Regions from separate parts of the Homo sapiens genome. Here region 2 is linked to region 1. The links are contacts of gene promoters, found by promoter capture Hi-C in human tissues and cell types (Jung and others, 2019). All regions are on one chromosome and are shown on one strand. The core of a region is centred on a gene start or on the middle of the fragment in contact, and the rest is flanking DNA. Distances in the headings are between cores, read along the strand shown. Region 1 holds the start of EPHB2 (EPH receptor B2). Region 2 has its middle 27 kb from the start of LACTBL1.

Evidence for each region. Contacts are between HindIII fragments. The study calls those that stand out against the background at their distance.
Region 2: a contact is called between a fragment that was not itself captured here and the fragment with the promoter of EPHB2 in region 1, in 3 of the 25 tissues and cell types used here (IMR-90 fibroblasts, dorsolateral prefrontal cortex and mesenchymal stem cells).

Annotation. Positions count from the first base shown.
Region 1 is chr1:22,708,833-22,713,745 of GRCh38, reverse strand. It overlaps EPHB2 (EPH receptor B2), which reads right to left and starts at 2,907. Exons shown (of 16, transcript NM_017449.5): 1 at 2,703-2,907. The coding sequence starts at 2,763. RefSeq lists an enhancer at 1,614-1,713 and a silencer at 3,935-4,220. The HindIII fragment of the contact is 4,397 bases long and covers 753-4,913 here.
Region 2 is chr1:22,943,359-22,948,271 of GRCh38, reverse strand. No RefSeq gene overlaps it. Among named protein-coding and RNA genes, the nearest start is that of LACTBL1, 27 kb to the left of the region's middle. The HindIII fragment of the contact is 5,786 bases long and covers 149-4,913 here.

The sequences.
Region 1 (4,913 bases), core at 1,658-4,157:
GACAAGGAAGGAGGAAGGGAAGGAAGTGGTAGCCATGTGGCTCTGGGTTCTGGGAGCCAGAGGGGCCACCCTCCTACTGCTCCACGGCCCAGTCCTGTCTCCACAGACTGTGTCACCCTCAGGAGGACCCTGGTGTCTCCCAAATGTGCACAGGCAGCACCGCCCCCCAAATGTGCACAGGCAGCACCGTCCATCCCTGGCTTTGAAGGGGGACTTCTCCCACCCATCATCTGGTCTGATCCTCACAAACACCCCAGGAGACAGGCAGGACAGGCGCTGTCATCACTCTCACTAGACGGGGGAGGAAAACGAGGCTCAAAGAGGGGAAGTAGGGCGTAGACGATGGACTCTACAAGATATTTAGCCAGGCCATTTTACACCCAGAGAAACTGAGGCCCCCACAGGGAAGGGACCTGGCCCAGGGTCCCATAGTAAATGAGAAGCAGGCCCTCTGACCTCCACCTCACACCATCTCCCCATCCATTCGGCCAGCTCCTTATTAACCACTGATGGACTAACTTCCTAGTGTCCAGGGGGCAAACGGAACAAGAGCCTGAGGCAAGCATTGGGGTGCCTGCTGCAGCCCTCCTCCCACCCTGCTGTGGCTTCCCTTCCCCACCCTGCCCCCAAGTGGCAGTCCAAGTAGCCATACCCTCCTGTGACGTCAGCGCCCACCAGCCCTGTGTCCAGGGCCAGGGTCCAGGCTGGCCACAGCCCACCAGATTCCAACCAGCCTCTGCCAGGGCGATGGCTGGACAGATGTGGCCCTTCCATCTACCCCAGAGTAATTAAAAACACACCCAGGCCTCTTCCAACGAGAGAGGGGCCAATTTTCTTCCCCTCCAGCACCGCTGACTGCAACCTAAATAGCAATATTTATGCCAAGCTCCCCATAATACTGTAAACATCCCAATGTATAGCGGGCCAACGCATGAGTCATTTCCCCAAAGCCAGAGTTAATAAGTGGTACCTCAGCCATATTCCACAGAGCTCCCGCCAGCAGCCAGGCCCCAGGGCTGCCCTCCACACCCAGGGCCCGTGGCACCCTAGGTGCCCCAGTGGCCCCACTCCGGGAAACCGCAGTCAGCCGCCAAATCCCCCAGGAGCCGAAGGACAGCTGCCTCAGTGCCAGAAACTGTGGCTGCCATCCAGGGACACCCCCCACCCCCTGACTGCGGTCACTAAAGTGCTCATTACCGAAAGAGAAACTGAAGTTGTAGCACAGGGTCCCCCACGACGCCTTTCCCAGAGGCCGCAGCCCCCACGTCTGGTCTGATATGCGTTTTTTCTTAGGCTGCAAGAAGGGAAGGGGCGCCCCACAACCCTAAAGTGGCCTGAGAGGTGCACACAGACATCATCCCTAAGCCCAAGGGAGCAGAACCCTGGAAGGGCTCACGCAGTTTAGGGGCAACAAAACCCAGCTAAGTGAGTGCTGGTTTCAAAGAAAGACCACAGACCTGGGTTCTATTTTTGTCACCCAACGGCCCTGGGTGAGACATCGGACTTTTCAGAACCTCGGTTTCCCTATCTGTTCAAGAGAAGTAGGAATCATACCTACCTGTCTTCCCCGGAAGGTGTATTTTGAGGGATCCAACACGCTGGTGGGCGGGAAAGCACTTTGTAAAGCTTAAAGTACCTTGTCAACTGTGCAGCACGTTGTAAACCACAGAGAGCTGCGTATAGTGCGAAGTACTTCATAAACTGTAAAGTGGTTTGAAAACTGTAAAGTGCAGTACACGTGAGAACCATTATTCACGTTCGCTTCTTGCCCTGCAAGCTCGGCCATTCCTGGTGGACACACCCAGACCGCACTAACTTTCCCTCCAGAGCAAGCTGGCTCGGGAGACCTAGCAACTACCCTTGCCCCCCTGGGGGTCGAGTGGTACCAATACACGAGGCCACGGGGAGAGGGCCCGCGACCCTGGCCAAGGCCAACACATGGCAAGAGCATCTGGTCCGGCCCCGGCGGCAGCTGGAGAGTTCCCGGGGCTCCAGCCGCCACGCTGAGCGCCGCGGCCGCGGGGCGGTGGCCGGCGGGGGTGCCCGGAGACCTTGCGCGGCGGAGAGATGCCCACAGACCCATCCCCCGCGCAGTCCTCTCGGGGAGGGGACCCCATTGTACGCCGCGGGCGATGGGCAGGCACCGACGCGGGGGCTGGCGCGCTCCCTTCCACTCTGCCAGTCCCTGCTCTCCGGGGCGCCGGGCCCCATCTCGGGGGCGCGGGCCGGGAGCCCCCACCCCGGCCGGCCGCGGTGCCTCCCTCCCTCTGCTCCCTGCCAAACTTTCCAGCCCCGACCGAGCGCCGGCGCCCCCCCCGCCCCCCGCCACGGCCGGGCCCGCGCCCCTCCACCCTGTGCGGAGCAAGACCAGGCCGGCGCGAGGCGGCTGCCCGAGCCGGGGGCGGCGAGCGCGCGTGGGCAGCCCCCAGCCCTGGGCGGCGCTCGCCGGGCTGGCTACAAAGCCTCGGCAAGATGGTCCCTTCGCCTCCTCCTGGCACAGTCAATCAGCGCCCGCCGCTCCCCGGGCGCCCGCGGGGCCCGCTCCTCCCGGCGCGGCCGGACACACCTCCCCGCGGCCACCTGCGCCCGGCGCCGGCCCCCGGGCAAACTTTGCGGGCCGCGGAGCGGAGGTGGGCGCCGGCGGCCGCCCGTGCCCGGCCGCTCCCCGCCCCCATCGCCCGCCCGCCCGCCCGCTCGCTCACCTTCCACGGCGGCGAGCAGCGGCAGCAGCAGCAGCGCGGCCCCCAGCCTCCGCAGAGCCATGGCTGCGCTTCCCGGGGCCTCGGGCCGCGGCGCCGCGGGGCCCGGACGGCCCGGGCGGGAGCGCGCGCCCCGGGCTCGGGGGGCCAGGGGGGGCGGCAAGGCGCGGCGCACACACAGCCGCCGCCACCGCGCAGCCAGCAGAATGAGCCATCCAGCCCGGGCAGAACGGGGACCCGGGCTCCGCCAGCGCTGGGCACGGCCCACCTGAGCCGCGGGCGCGGGGGGAGCCTCGCCAGGCCACCGCCCCCCGCGCGCGTCCCGGCCCCCGGCGGCCGCGCGCCGCCGCGAGCCCGGGTCCCCACACCGCGCCCGTAGGGTCACCCGGGGGCAGCGCGGGCGCTGGAGCGCGGCGACCCCGCGTGCCCGGGCCACTGAGACCCCGGGCTCCCCCCGCGCAGCAGTGGTCTCTCCCGGCGCTGTGGCTCCTCCAGATAAAGCAGCGATTTCAGCCCAAATGTTTCTCAATTTTTATTGAATGCTGCAAAGCCGGAGAGCGTCTGGCGCGGCTGACAGGGGCAGGGAGAGCGGACGGAGGGGAGGGCGGGGGAAGGGGCTTCCCAAAGCGGGGGCCGGCACTACCTGTCAGGGCAGGGAGTCCCACCCCCTCGCCTCAGCCCTGCCACCCGGGTCCCTGCGGCTTCGAAAGGGACCGAACTGCAATGAATGGAAAAAAAAAAAAAAGGGTGTGTGTGGGGGGGTGGCATCTGGGAACAAAACAGGCGGCTTTCCCAGGCACCGGGGCTGGGCCGGGGCCTCCGAGTGGGAGACTGGGCCTTGGCGCTACCCGAGGGCCTGGGGTGGGGCTGGGGGGAGGGTGGTCACTCGGCACTGGTGGGCTGGGCCCTTGCAGGCAGACCCCAGGCCTCCCCTCCCTGCCCCGTTGTTCTGAGCTGGCCCGCGAGCCCCTCACTGCAGACTCGTCTATGTCTGTATTAGATTTCTCCTTCTCTGTTGATCTTGCTCCCAGTGCAGTTTGGGGATGGGGTGAAGGAAGTCCATGGGTGAATCTGGGGAAAGCCCCAGCCACCCCCACGCTGTGGAATGGACCTGTCTGTGCAGCCGTGGTTTTGTGCATGGCCGTCCCTTCAGGGAGAACACAACCCTAGCCCCAACCCTGTGGGCCCTGCCCTGCTCTGACAGCCTTCATCACCATCATCATTAACAGACTTTACTGAAGTCTGGATGGTGGGCGGCTGCAGGGGGCCTGCGGCAATCACCCAGGCTGAACCCCTGGCAGTTGGGAGCCCACTCCTGACTGAGGAGACTTCATCAGGAGCTCGGAACTCTGTGGAGTGAGTGGAGGAGCCCAGTGCAGGAGCAGGTGGTTTAAGTCGAAGGCAGTTTAAGTCTATGCTACCCACATCTCCTGTGTCCCTTTGTCCCACATACTATCAAAATGTCCCAGCAATCCCTCCCCTTCAGTCCATACCAAGAAAATGGGGTACCACAGGCTTTGGGAATCCATCTAAGGTTTGGAAAGTTGGGTCGTCTCTTGAAGCTCCAAGAGTCCAGTTGAAATGGGTGTCATCCTGGAAGGCCACCAGGAGGAGGCAGCCTGGGAGGGAGACAGAACAGGAGTGAGCAGGGAGAGAAGAGAAACAGGAGATTTCCCCCTATTAAGCCTACAGACCCCTCACCAGGGTCAAGAGCCAGTGGGGTGGGGCTGGCAGAGCCACTACCGTTCCTATTTGAGTGAGCAGGGAGAGAGGAGAAACGAAGATTCCCCCTTTTAAGTCTACAGACCCCTCACCAGGGTCAAGATCCACTGGGGTGGGGCTAGCCTTTATTTTCAGTTCTTGCCTGTCAGACCTTCCAGGAGACCCAGGGTTTGAGGGACCCCAAGCTTGGCCCATCTTGAGGCAATCCTCCCTCTCCTGGACAGAGCAGCTCTAAGCTCTGGCCCCCTCCAGTGCATCCAGGTGCTAGACACTTCCAAATTCAAGAAGTCATTATTGAGCACCTATTATGTACTGTGCAGATTCAGCTTTTTTGCTTTGTTTCTATTTCCTGGGACCCTTGACTCCACCTACCCAGGGCCAGTGGTTACTTCCTTTTTGTCTCAAAATAGGAAGACCAGTGACTCTGCTTTATTGAGGACATGGTACCAGGCACTAGGCTGGGCTTTGTTTATTTCTTGTCCCCCTTAATCT
Region 2 (4,913 bases), core at 1,792-4,291, 230 kb before region 1:
AGAAGTCCAAGATCAAGGTGTTGGCAGGTTTAGTTGTCTGGTGAGGGCTGCCATCTGCTTCCAAGATGGTGCTATGTTGCTGCATCCTCCGGAGGGGAGGAACACTGTATCCTCACATGGTGGAAGGCAGAAGGGCAAGCAAGCTGAATGCTGCATGAAGAGAAGATTCTTTTATACAGGCCTTAATCCCATTCACCAGAGGAGCCCTCATGAACTAATCACCTCTTAAAGGCCCCACCTATTAATACAACCACTTTGGCCATAAAATGTTAATACCTGGATTTTGGAAGGAACACATTCAAACCACAGCACCTCTGTTGAATTGCTTTTGCACCTTTGACAAAAATCAGTTGGGCCAGGCATGGTGGCTCACGCCTGTAATCCCAGCACTTTGGGAGGTCAAGGCAAGCAGGTCTCTTGAGCCCAGGAGTTCAAGACCAGCCTGAGCAACATGGCAAAACCCCGTCTCTACAAAAACCAAAACCAAAACCAAAACAAAAAACAAAAACAAAAAAACCATAAAAATTAGCTGGGCACAGTGGCACGTGCCTGTAGTCCCAGCTACTTGGGAGACTGAGAGATGGGAGGAACACTTGAGCCCAGGAAGAGGAGACTGCAGTGAGCCATGATTACACCACTGCAACTCCAGTCTGGGCAACAGAGCAAGACCCTGTCTCAAAAATAAAAAAGAAAATCAGTTGGGCATATTTGTGTGGGACTATTCCTGGGTTCTTTATCCTATTTTACTGAACTATGTGTCTATCCCTCAACCAGGTGCTGTGGTTTGAATGCGTTCCTTCCAATACAGCATAGTCTTGATCACTATAGCTGTATATAAATCTTGAAGTTATAAACTGGGTAGACTGATTTCTCCCACTTTATCCTTCTTTTTCAAAATTGTTTTAGCTATTATAGGTCCTTTGCTTTCCATACAAATGTTATAGAAATCTTGTCTACATCTACTACAAAATAGCATGCTGGGATTTTGATAGAAATTTTATTAAATCTGAATATCAATTTGAGAAGACTCGCATCTTTTGAGTCTTCTAATTCATGAACACAATATATCTCTCTTTTGACATCTTCTTTGGTTTCTTTTATAAGTTTATAATTTTCAGCATATTATTTCAGTATATGTTTTGTTAGATTTAAACCTAAGCATTTCATTATTTTGGAGTGTTTATAAATGGTCTTATATTTTTAATTTTACTGGTCACTTGTTTATTGCTAGTATACAGAAATATAATTGTTTTTTGTATGTTAATCCTGTATTCTGTGACCTTACTGTACCCACTTATTCATTCTAGGAGTCTTTTGGTTTTGGTTTTGTTTTTTGGTAGATTCCTTGGTATTTTCTACGTAGATAATCATGTTATCTGTAAATATGAATAGTTTTATTTCTTTCTTGCTAGTCTGTATACTTTTTACTTACTTTTCTTGCCTTATTTCATTGGCTGGAATTCCCAATATTATGTTGAATAAGAATGGTGAGAGTGGACATCTTTTCTTTTTTTTTTTTTTTTTTTTTTGAGACGGTGTCTTGCTCTGTCGCCCAGGCTGGAGTGCAGTGGCGTGATCTCGGCTTACTGCAAGCTCTGCCTCCCGGGCTCATGCCATTCTCCTGCCTCAGCCTCCCGAGTAGCTGGGACTACAGGCGCCTGCCGCCACGCCCGGCTAATTTTTTGTATTTTTAGTAGAGACGGAGTTTCACCCTGTTAGCCAGGATGGTCTCGATCTCCTGACCTCATGATCCGCCCGCCTCAGCCTCCCAGAGCGCTGGGATTATAGGCGTGAGCCACCACGCCCGACCCTGAGAGTGGACATCTTTGCCTTGTTCCTGATGTTAGAGGAAAACATTCGGTCTTTTTCCACTAAGTGTAATGTTAGCTGTAGGTTTGTTTTTTGTTTGTTTGTTTTTTGAGATGGAGTCTTGCTCTGTCACCCAGGCTATAGTGCAGTGGCACGATCTCAGCTCACTGCAACCTCTGCCTCCCGTGTTCAAGTGATTCTCCAGCCGCAGGCTCCTGAGTAGCTGGGATTACAGGTGTGTGCCACCACGCCCGGCTAATTTTTGTATTTTTAGTAGAGACGGGGTTTCACCATGTTGGTCAGGCTGGTCTCAAACTCCTGACCTCGTGATCTGCTCGCCTCGGCCTCCCAAAGTGCTGGGATTACAGGCGTGAGCCACTGTGCCCGGCCTTTAGCTGTAAGCTTTTTGCAGGTTTTAAAAAATCAAATTGAGGAAATTATTCTCTTATTCCTAGTTTTCTGAGAGTATTTTTTAAAAATCATAACTGGATTTTGAATTTTGTAAATTTTTTTCTGTATAAATTGACATAATCATGTAATTTTTCTTCTTTAGCCTATTAATCTGGTAGATTACATTGGTTGATTTAAAAATATCGAACCAGCCTTGAATCCCTAGAAAAAAATCCCACTGGTCATGGCAGGGCAAGGGGCAAGACCTTTTCCCAGGTAAGATTTGTCTCGTGGCGAACTTTAGAAAGCAACTCCTCGATGTCTTATGTATTCTTTCAGTCTTTCCAGAAGATTGGGGTCTCCAAGACAAATGCAGTTTCTAATTGACACTCAGAAGCTGCCATACTTCCTGGGTTATTTGGGCTATAAAAGCGGCTTCATGGCCGGGCGCAGTGGCTCACGCCTGTAATCCCAGCACTTTGGGAGGCCGAGGCGGGTGATCATGAGGTCAGGAGTTTGAGACAAGCCTGGCCAACCTAGTAAAACCCTGTCTCTGCTAAAAATACAAAAATTAGCCAGGTGTGGTGTCACGCACCTGTAGTCCCAGCTACTTGGGAGGCTGAGGTGGGAGAATCGCTTGAACCCAGGAGGTGGAAGTTGCAGTGAGCCAAGACTGCGCCATTGCACTCCAGCCTGGGTGACAGAGTGAGACTCCGTCTCAAAACAACAACAACAAGAAAAGTGGCTTCATGCTGGGTGTGGTGGCTCACACCTGTAATCCCAGCACTTTTGGTGGCCAAGGCGGGTGGATTGTTTGAGCTCAGGAGTTTGAGACCAGTCTGGGCAACATGGCAAGACCCTGTCTCTACAAAAAATACAAAAATTATCCAGGTGTGGTGGTGCGTGACTGTAGTTCCAGCAACTAGGGAGGTTGAGGTGGAAGGGTCCCCTGAGCCGGGGAGGTTGAGGTTGTAGTGAGCTGTGATTGCAGCACTGCAGTGCAGCCTGGATGACAGAGTGAAACTCTGTTAAAAAAAAAAAAAAGTGGCTTCATTGTCACTATGGAGAGTTTGTGGGAATCCATATGGAGGAATTATTTCCTTCATTAGAGCCTTTACAACTTCGGCAGGTTTTTCAGTTCTGCTGAGTTAAACCTCAACCCAGCTGGCCCTCCCGACTCCTTGTTCCATGAAATTGCTTCCCTCGGTGAAGAATTCTTGGTTGGGTTCTGTTAATGGCAAATCTGTGGGGCCCAGTCTGCTGGAGTAAACTTGATCAATTATTTGAATGCAATCCTCAACAGGAGGCTGGAGGTTCCTTGGTAGCCGGGTGGCAGGATTAGGAGTAGAAATAACTTTAAGAGTTATATTTGGTTTATCTAGAAGCATGGTTTGGTGCTTTTCCAGCCCTGGCAGTCCACAATAGCCCCCTTCTGCTTGGGCAGGGGAAACACATAATGCATAGTATGTACCTTCATGGGCTGCTGAAAGGTGAACTTCTCAGCTTCCTGCAATATATCACAGGTGGCAGCCACTGCCCTTAGGCAGGTAGGCCAGCCCTTAGTTACCTTGTCAAGCTGTTTTATAAAGTAGGCCATGGGACATTTTAAGGTCCCAAGGTCTTGAGTTAATTCTCCAAGTCCAATTCCCTGTTTTTCTTGAACAAATAAATCAAAAGGTTGGTGTAGGTCAGGGAGACTCAGGGCAGGGGCTGTCATCAATTTCTCTTTAATGGTTAGAAAGGCATTTTGGCATTCTCTACTCCAAGAAAGGGGTTCCCTTTCTTCTTCTTTTAAAGTCTCCTAGAGAGGTTTGGCTATTAACCTGAAGTTAGGGATCTAAATTTGACAAAATCCAGGCATCCCTAAAGGACCACGTAGTTGTTTAAGGATACTGGAGACTGCCACCTGATTTATTGCCTCTGTGATCTGGGAGAAGATTGTGAGTCCCTTGAATCCCAGGTACTGAATGGTGGGATGAGAGATCTATGCCTCTTTCTTAGAAACCTTGTACCCTTTATCTGCCAGGAAATTTAAGACTTTGATGGCATGGAGGATGGAGTTACCCTCCATTTCACTGGCTATCAAGATATCATCTGCGTATTACAAAATAGTTCACATTAATTAACATGGAATTCTTAGGACTGTCGGATCTACATCTGTATATTTGTTTTCTTTTCTTTCTTTCTTTTCTTTTTCTTTTTCTTTTTTTTTTTTTTTGAGACAGAGTCTCGTTCTGTCACCCAGGCTGGAGTGCAGTGGTGCGATCTCGGCTCACTGCAACCTCTGCCTTCTGGGTTCAAGAGATTCTCCTGCCACAGCCTCCTGAGTAGCTAGGACTGCAGGCGTGCACCACCATGCCCAGCTAATTTTTTGTATTTTTAGTAGAGACGGGGTTTCACCATGCTGGCCAGGTTTGTCTCGAACTCCTGACCTCAAGCAATCCACCTGCCTTGACCTCCCTAAGTGCTGGGATTACAGGTGTGAGCCTCTGTGCCCGGCCTACATCTGTATATTTCTGATAAGCCTCCAAAATTCTTTCCAAAATGCTAATGGGTTCTCATCCACTTCTTGTCTAGATATAGTCATGGGAAATCAAAATTTGACCTCCCCCCAAAAAATAATAATAAAACAAAATTCAACCCCAGAATGCAGCCTGCTTGAGTAAATTATTCAAAATTGATAAATTATATCTTACAACTAGTTTCATTTTGCT